Linked DNA regions of Homo sapiens: region 1 is linked to region 2. The links are contacts of gene promoters, found by promoter capture Hi-C in blood cells and fetal thymus (Javierre and others, 2016). All regions are on one chromosome and are shown on one strand. The core of a region is centred on a gene start or on the middle of the fragment in contact, and the rest is flanking DNA. Distances in the headings are between cores, read along the strand shown. Region 1 has its middle 47 kb from the start of RPUSD4. Region 2 holds the start of DDX25-AS1 (DDX25 antisense RNA 1).

Evidence for each region. Contacts are between HindIII fragments. The CHiCAGO score rates a contact against its expected background, and 5 or more counts as called.
Region 1: a fragment that was not itself captured here is called in contact with the fragment with the promoter of DDX25-AS1 in region 2 in 1 of 17 cell types (non-activated CD4 T cells); the score reaches 5.2 in non-activated CD4 T cells.

The regions. Positions count from the first base shown.
Region 1 is chr11:126,161,968-126,166,416 of GRCh38, forward strand. No RefSeq gene overlaps it. Among named protein-coding and RNA genes, the nearest start is that of RPUSD4, 47 kb to the right of the region's middle. The HindIII fragment of the contact is 5,651 bases long and covers 1-4,449 here.
Region 2 is chr11:125,937,397-125,941,676 of GRCh38, forward strand. It overlaps DDX25-AS1 (DDX25 antisense RNA 1), which reads right to left and starts at 1,646. Exons shown (of 4, transcript NR_199024.1): 1 at 1,290-1,646. The HindIII fragment of the contact is 1,410 bases long and covers 1,504-2,913 here.

The sequences.
Region 1 (4,449 bases), core at 1,019-3,518, 230 kb after region 2:
ATCTTTTTTTATGGCTGCATAGTATTCCATGGTGTATATGTGCCACATTTTCTTAATCCAGTCTATCACTGATGGACATTTGGGTTGGTTCCAAGTCTTTGCTGTTGTGAATAGTGCCGTAATAAACATACGTGTGCATGTGTCTTTATAGCAGCATGATTTATAATCCCTTGGGTATATACCCAGTAATGGGATTGCTGGGTCAAATGGTATTTCTAGTTCTAGATCCTTGAGGAATCGCCACACTGCCTTCCATAATGGTTGAACTAGTTTACACTCCCACCAACAGTGTAAAAGTGTTCCTATTTCTCCACATCCTCTCCAGCACCTGTTGTTTCCTGACTTTTTAATGATCGCCATTCTAACTGGTGTGAGATGGTATTTTCCCCTCTTACAATCAGGATAAAGAAACTCCTTCCTGTGGTTGTAGCAAGAGTGAAATGTGTAACCTATGTGAAGCACTTGGAATGGGCCAGGCACACAGCAGACACTCAATAACAGCAGCTGTTAGATCTCAGCAAGGCGGGGCAAGGAGCATGAGAGGGCGGCTGGGGAGAAGGGAAAGGAAGGCTTGAGGCAGACACTGGCCTTGCTGCCTCCATCTGCACACTGTGAGTGACCTGCCAGGTGCAGCGGCTGTGATCACCTCCAGGAATCTCCTGGCCCTCTTCTCAATCTTCCTTTAGAAAAACAGCCAGAGGAATCAAATCTCCTCTCTCCACTGGGGTCCTTCAGCCCCGGCTGCCCACCCCCTTGATTCTGCTGTCCAGCCCCTAAGGAGAAGGTATGGATTTTGGAGGCAAACAAACCTGGGTTGAATTCCCTATTCGGCCTGGAGTGGGCTGTGTGGACTTGAGCAGGTCTTCACACCTGGCAGGAACGCGACCACCGCCGGAGAGCCATCAGGCCCTTGGGACGATCGGGGTGCCCTCCCCACAAATCCCCAGCTCTGTGTGACCCAGGACAAGTGGCCCAGCCTCACACAGGCAGATTCTGCTCAGATCAAAAGCAATCACGAGCACAGGGCCTCAGGGCGATGGGCAAGACATGGGACCCCAGGATTGCTACAGTGTTCACTCGGAGGAAGCAGGAGCCTGGCTAATTCCCCGCTCACTGGCAGACTTTTCCAGGGGCGGCACGGCCAAGAAACTTCAGGTCCCTGCCACGAGGAGTGCGGGGGAGCGCGGAGCAGCTCACAGGAATGGCATCTTATGCCTTCCAGAAAGAGTGAGATTGATGGCACTTTTCAGGCCTCAATGAATCACACTCCCATGTGACCGCCTTAGCCTCCTGGCAGCAGATGTACTCAGCAGTCACTGTCCTCAACAACAGCACGTTTCTCACACACCCAGATGCACACGCATTGGCCGAGGGTCTTCCCAGGAGGCACTCATGACCCAGCACCCGCGGCTTGAAGTGCACGTATGCAAACCGGCACAGCCCGTGCCTATGTCAGGCATAGCTGCGGCCAGCTGCAGCTCCTGAGACCCAGGCTGGGGCCCCAGGGCACAGAATGCCCAGCGGACCGCAGCTCGGACAAGTTCCCGGCCCCTCTGCCCTAACCCCTTCCCTGCAGAGAGAGTAGGCAGAGGGAGGGGCAGCCTGAGGGAGAAAACAAACTTCAGACTCATTATCCCCAGGCCCAATCTCTGCTCTCAGCACAAATAAAGGTCTCTAATCCGGAGTGAAAAGCAAACACAGCTCCCCTCTTCTCCCCCTGTCTCCTCCCATCAGGCTCGGGGCCCTGGCTCCTGTTTTCAATACAAATATTCAATTAAACTTTCCTAGAGGGTCCAGTAATTGGGTCCCAAAGGCAAAGGTTCCCATAGACAGAGTGAGACCCCGAGACAGTGAGACCCAAGAGGGGCAGACGTACCCGGCGACAGAGAGCAACAGGCAGACCGGGAGACCAGGCAGAGAATGGGAGGCCCCAGAGGGAGGGGTCTCAGATTTGCCCGGTAATCAGGAAACCCTTTCCTAGAGCTCTGTGCCCTCAAACTCTAGCTTCCTCTGAACTGCCCTGAGAGAGGAAATGAATCTTCAAGAACAGACCACAGGGCCCCAGGTGCGGTGGCTCACACCTGTAATCCCAATGCTGTGGGAGGCCGAGGTGGGCAGATCACCTGAGGTCAGGAGTTTGAGACCAGTCTGGGCAACATGGCGGAACTCTGTCTCTACAGAAAATTCAAAATGTAGCCAGGTGTGGCTACTCAGGAGGCCGAGGCAGGAGAATTGCTTGATCCTGGGGGATGGAGGTTGCAGTGAGCCAAGATCGCACCACTGCACTCTAGTCTGGGTGCCAGAGCAAGACTCCGTCTCAAAAATAAAATAAATAAATAAATAAAATAGACCAAGGGCCTGCAGCGATGTGCTTGTCCCCGTCACAGCCATCTTCTTCATCAGCAGCTCTTGTTCCATCAGCCCTGAGCCCTTCCAGGGCCAACAGCCTCTCCTAGCATTTACCACATTTAAATCAAAACACTATAGTCCAGCCCAGCACCAAATCCTTTTAAGACCTCTCCACCTTTGATCTGAATTGCTACTACTATAATCACTCCTTTTCCTGCAGTTGCTTAAATGGAATGGCCTCAAAAGCAGAAAAATTTTTCTACTCCTATGAAAAAACTGAGACCTGGAGAGGAGGAAAATCTGGCCCAAGGTCACCCTGCAAGTTAGCGCCTGAGCATGACCAGACCCCAAGGCTTCTGGTGCCCCGTAGATTATTTTTACCTGGTTACTGTCAGTCAAGCCTGGAGAGGGGATGTCTGAGTTCCAGCTCTAGCCCCATGACTGGTCAGCTGTAACACAAGGGAAAGAAACTCCATCCTCAGCAACTTCCACGGATCCATTTCCTTAATCAGAAACTTTCTCCTGCAAGCCCTGAGGACGCTTAAACACCTAAGACACCAGGATTCAATAAATTAAGAAATGGTCGGCTACAGTGGCTCACACCTGTAATCCCAGCACTTCGGGAGGCCAAGGTGGGAGGATCACTCAGAGCCAGGAGTTTGAGACCAGCCTAGGCAACACAGGGAGACCTGGCCTCTACAAACAAACAAACGAACAAAATAGCCAGATATGCCCTGTAGTCCCAGCTGCTTGGGAGGATCACTTGAGCCCAGGAGTTTGAGGCTGCAATGAGCTATGATCCATGCCACTGCACTCCAGCCTGGGTGACAGAATGAGACCCTGTCACGCCTCTTCGACCCCGCAAAAAAAAAAAAAAAAAAAAAAAGTAAGGAGACTGGATACAAGGTGACTTTTAAAACACAGGGAGGAAGTGAGGTTAGTAATTCATGCTCCCTTCTCTTCCTTTCCCTCCTTCCCTTGGTTCCATCTTAACAAGTCAAGTTACAAGCCAGGCTGGGGGGTGGAGTAGGGGACTAAAGAAGGAGCCCAGCTGGCCCTCCTAATTAAAAACCCTAAAGCTCTCTCGACAGATCTGCCTGACAGTGTGGGATTGACTCCCTTAGCCCAGCACGGGCTGCACCTGGAGGTCTCTGCTCATGACCTCTAGATGAAGGACAAGGTTGACTGGAAAAGGAAGAAGTGAGAGGAGGGGCGGGAGCCCCATCATCAGAGCAGGAGACAGACTCCTGGGCAGCTGGCTGGAGCTGGCGTGGGATCAACACCCTGGGATGGGGCCCCAGAGGGAACGGATGGGCCTGGGTGTTGGGGCCTCCGCTGAAGGGAGGTAACAGATTGATTTCAACTGGACTTTGCCTGGATTTCCTCGTCTCGTAACCCGCACTGGTTGGATGGACGGCTGTCTGGGGCCTCTTCGAAACCCAGTTTATCAAACCTTCCCCAAAATGTTAGGTCAGCATCTCAGGACCCAGTGACCCCAAATTTCAGAAAAACTTGAGGGTTACCATTCAGCCCAAACATGCTCATTCATGGTAACCCAAGCAGGCTGGAGGCCTCCGGGCAGGCAGGGCACAGGCTGCCCCCGACCAGAGCAAAAAGTCAGCGCGTGCAGTCGGCTGGGGGAGAGGGAGAGCAGTCTGGGAGATGCTCCTCATGGCAGGGAGCCCGGGAGGCAAGAGCCGAGCCAGGAGCTTCCAAGGGAGTCTGGCTTTGGGATTTACGAGTCTCTTGTTTCCATTCAGAAGGACTCTAGGCCTCAAGTGCTCTGGAGAGGATCGTTCCATGGAGCCAAGACACCAGGCGGAAGGGAAGCTGCTTCCTCACCAGGCACCATCCTGTCCTCTCTGAGGCCAGATTCGGGGCTCACTAACTCCTTTGTTGCAGGCCAGGGCTTAGAACTTCCCTTTCTATGATTTAGGGCAAAGGATGTGCAGGAGAGGGGAAGGCCATGTTTCCTTGGTCTTGAACTCAAGGAGGAGCGTCAAGTCCTTGAAAAGTATCAGTGAAGGCAGGAAGTGCCATGATTCTCATGCCGTCTGACTTCAGATTGGAAGTCACTATGCGTAACCTTAGTATCTTTCC
Region 2 (4,280 bases), core at 396-2,895:
CTCAGCGGTATCTTTTTTTTTTTTTTTTTTTTTTTTTTTTTTGTGAGACGAAGTCTCGCTCTGTTGGCCAGGCTGGAGTGCAGTGGCGAAATCTTGGCTCACTGCAACATCCACCTCCTGGGTTCAAGCAATTCTCCTGCCTCAGCCTCCTGAGTAGCCGTGACTACAGGCACGTGGCACCATGCCTGGCTAATTTTTGTATTTTTAGTAGAGATGGGGTTTCACTATGTTGGCCAGGCTGGTCTCAAACTCCTGACCTCATGATCCCAGCGGTATATTTTATCTTTCTAAAATTTAAGCTTCTTATGTCTCTCTTTTCATCTGTAGCTTCTGAATTTTCTACTTTATTTAGAAAAATCTCTTCAAACTCTAGATCATATATTCTAATATTTTTCCTCATGAAACTGTTTTAAATGTTATATTTAAATCTTTCGGATCTGAAATTTTGTTTTAATAACTTAATGAGGTAGAGGTCGTAACCTTTTTTTTTCATTCAGACATAGAGTCAACTGTGCCTATACAATTTATTAAAGAAACCATAGTTTGAATCCACTGGTTTGAAATACCACCTTTATTGTACCCTATAATCCATACGCACGGGGATAAATTTCTGAACTTTGTTCTATTTCTGCCCTATGGGGCTATTTATCTTGTCCTGTACTTTTAATGTACGATTTGATCCCAGTAACTTTATAGTTTTCCTTAGGCCACTTGTAATATTTCTTTGCTGCTGTTGTTTTCATCATTACCATTAAAAAATTCCTTCCAGCTATCAGAGCCTGTGAATGTCAGTAACTTCAAAACAGGCCAGAATAAAGCCAAGAAGGGGAGGGATGGGCCTGTCCCTTACCTGTCCATGTGCCTTTTCAGGAATCAGCTGAGGCAGTGGCCAGACAACAACATTAGGTGAGCACCCACTACGCATTCAGCATTGCTCTTACCACTAACGACAAAGCTGGAAGACCAGAACTTCCAGCAATGGGGTAACAAGGTTCTTATTTCTCAGCTCTGGACCTGTATCTTCTGCAGCCAGTTTTGCGATGTTGGGCTTGGACCCTACCAACTCCATTTCTGTTTTGCCAGTCACTAGAGGGAGGCTGCAGGCGGGACAGGAAGTGTGGACAGGCTCCTTCCTGTTTGCATCTGTGTGTTCCCTGTGAGGGCACCCCAGCAACACATCTTCACCCCAGGAACAGCAGGCCCCTCCTGGAGCAGCACCTGATCCAGTTTGCAGTGTTCCCAACACTTGCAGCTCCATCATCCACCCCACCCCAGCCCTGCATCCCTACCTGAGAGACCCCAGCACCAGCTGGCAGGTGCCCCTTCCGCAGAGGTCTGGGTGCAGGAGTCCTTTCTTCACACCCGGAGACCCCAGCTCCCGCTGAGTTGAGCCCCCTCCTCAGATGTCTGGGTCACAGGCTCTGGAACCCTCCTTCAAAACTCTTCCTTAGGGTTCTCCAGCCCTGGAGTGGTAGCTGCTCCTGCAGGTGCAACCCCCATGAAAGCTTACTCTTCTCTCTCCTTACCCTCTCCTTACCTAATTAACAACTTCATACCTCATTATCAGTTCCTTATGCTGAATTCTCTTTTCAAACTAACTGGTGTGGTTTCTGTCTCCTGATTGAACCCCAGCTGACACAGGTAATGAGGAATTGAAGTTTTCTGGGAAGTGAGGGCTGCCTCTCTTGGCCGCCCTGCTGAGAGCTCCCTTCCCTCCTCCATTCCCAGAATTATTTGGCTGCTGGTCGCCAAGGAGACGACTGACAATTTCCAGTTGCCAAGCCTCACCCTGGAGCTCTACAGAGACATTATGGAAACTCCCCACTCCTTCCTGCTCCTCAGCCAGGGAACTTGGAGAATCTAGCCAGGTTGGGTGGAGGGCACTGGGAGGGGATAGAGAGGAGGTGACAAGCCTGAAGATGGAGAGAGCAGCTAGAAGTTTCCCTGGGCCCTGGCTTCCCCAACAGACCTCAAAAGTCTGGCCCACCCTTGAAGGCTAGGGCTGGCCTGGTGGGCATCCCCTGTGCTGGGTCCAGACAGACTCCTACCAGGGACCTCCAACCAGACCCTCAACTACAGAGAACTGTCCCTATATTGTCATTCCCGGCCTGGTAGCAGCACTGTTGCCAGATGGGGCAGAACCCAGGAAGAACCTGGGAACTGAAGGGCTAGGAGTCTTTCCTGGGGGAAGGAACTGCAGCTGTCCTGAGCACTTTGCTCATATCAGACAGCACTCAAATGCACTGAGGCCTAGTGTCACAGCCCGGGAAACAGCAACAACAGCAACGCTAATAATAATAATCGTAGTGGTGCAGTAGGTGTGACTCTTACTCTATAAACTTAGGTGCACAAAAATATCCATTTCTCTATTTCACTAAAATCAAGTAGAGTTGAGTTCATTCCTGGGGCTCCTGCCTTTTTCCAGCGTCCCACCAGAACCCGGGGGCTTATTGCTATGGTTTAAATGTGTCCCCAAAATTCAGGTGTTGCCAGTGTGGTAGTATTAAGAGATGGGGTCTCCAAGAGGTGGTTGGGCCACGAGGGCTCCTCCCCTGTGAATGGGAGTAGCTGCCCTTATAAAAGGGCTTGACAAAGGGAGTTTATCCCTTTTTGCCCTTCTGCCTTCCACTATGTGGGGACATGGCCTTCGTCTCCTCTGGAAGATGCAGTGACAAGGCGCCATCTTGGAAGACAACAGCTCTCACCAGACACCGGACCTGCTGGAGCCCCGGTCTTGGACTTCCCAGTCTCCAGAACTGTAAGAAAATAAATTTCTGTTCTTTATAAATTACCCAGTCTCAGGTATTCTAGTATAGCCACACAAATTGACTAAGAAACTTAGGAGGGATGAAACCAAGGGAAGGCCTCTAACTGCTGGTCCATCGTGGTGGTTGTTGGCCTGCTCGTTGTCCAAGCTTTCTGTGGGCCTGTGCAGTCAGCAATAGCTCTCCAGTCCTGTACGCTCTGGGGTCCTGGCCTGCTGTCTCCAGACTCTTCTTCTCCCAGGTACCTAGTGACCTCTGAACTGTCCCCAAACTCAGGGAAATCTCTTCCTCTCTGCTCTAACTGCCCCCAAAGGCACTCTCCTTTCTCCATCTCACCCCTTCCACCACCCGGCATACCTCACACAACTTTTACAAAATTAGGAAGATGTTAATGTACAGCTTCTTCCCTGCAAGAATCCCCATGGCAATGCAGGGCTAGAGGCCTGGTGAAAGCAGCTTCTGGTCTGTTTTTGCGTAGTAGTTTAAGGTAAGCTAAAGACATCGGGACATCTCATTGCTGAGTGTTTTAGTATTCATTAAAAAACAGAAACATTGTCTTACATCATCAAAAAACTATTCTCACATATAACAAAATTAATTTTCTAACTTTTTTTTTTTTTTGAGACTGAGTCTTTCTCTGTTGCCCAGGCTGGAGTATAGTGGCGTGGTCTCGGCTCACTACAACCCCCACCATCCAGGTACAAGTGATTCTCGTGGCTCAGCCTCCTGAGTAGCTGGGACTACAGGAACACGCCACCACACCCGACTAAGTTTTGTATTTTTAGTAGAGAGAGGGTTTCACCATACTGGCCAGGCTGGTCTCAAACTCCTGACCTCAAGTGATCTGCCCGCCTCGGCCTCCCAAAGTGCTGGGATTACAGGCGAGAGCCACCGTGCCTGGCTTCTAATATTATCTAATAAACAATTAGTCCCATTTCACAGAGGAAAAACTAAGACTTGAAGTGGGTGAGTAACTTGTTCATCGTCACTCAGGTAGTGGGAACAGAACCAAGATCTGAACCCTGATGTGATTCCAGCTCTCCTCTTTCTTCACATCTCTGCACAGCAGCTTATACGCTCTTACTAATCCACCATCCCGCTCTTACAACAGCTCTGAGCAGTGTCAGGGTGAGCATTGCAATCACATTTTTAACCAATCAGGAAACAGAAGCCATGAGTGTTTTGCTCCACATGCCCAGGTAGGGCTGGTTGAGAAAGGGCTCCGGGAATGGAAAGCAGATGGAAGGAGGGTCAGCTCCCAGGTGAAGCTGGCGCCAGAAACTAGGCCTCCTTCCCTGCGGCCCCAACAGGTGCTCTCCCAGCACTGTCACTGCCTCAGCCTTGGCCTGCGTCTGCCTCCCCTTCCTTCCTCTCCTGATCTGTTCACCTCCTGTTCCCAACCCTTCCATCCAGGGCCTCCTTCATTTCCTCTCTAGTCTCTAAGGATCAGTTTACAAAGTGACTAGGCAGTGGCCCCTGCCTGTCCTCTGTCCCTGTTGTCCTCCTTCCTTTCCT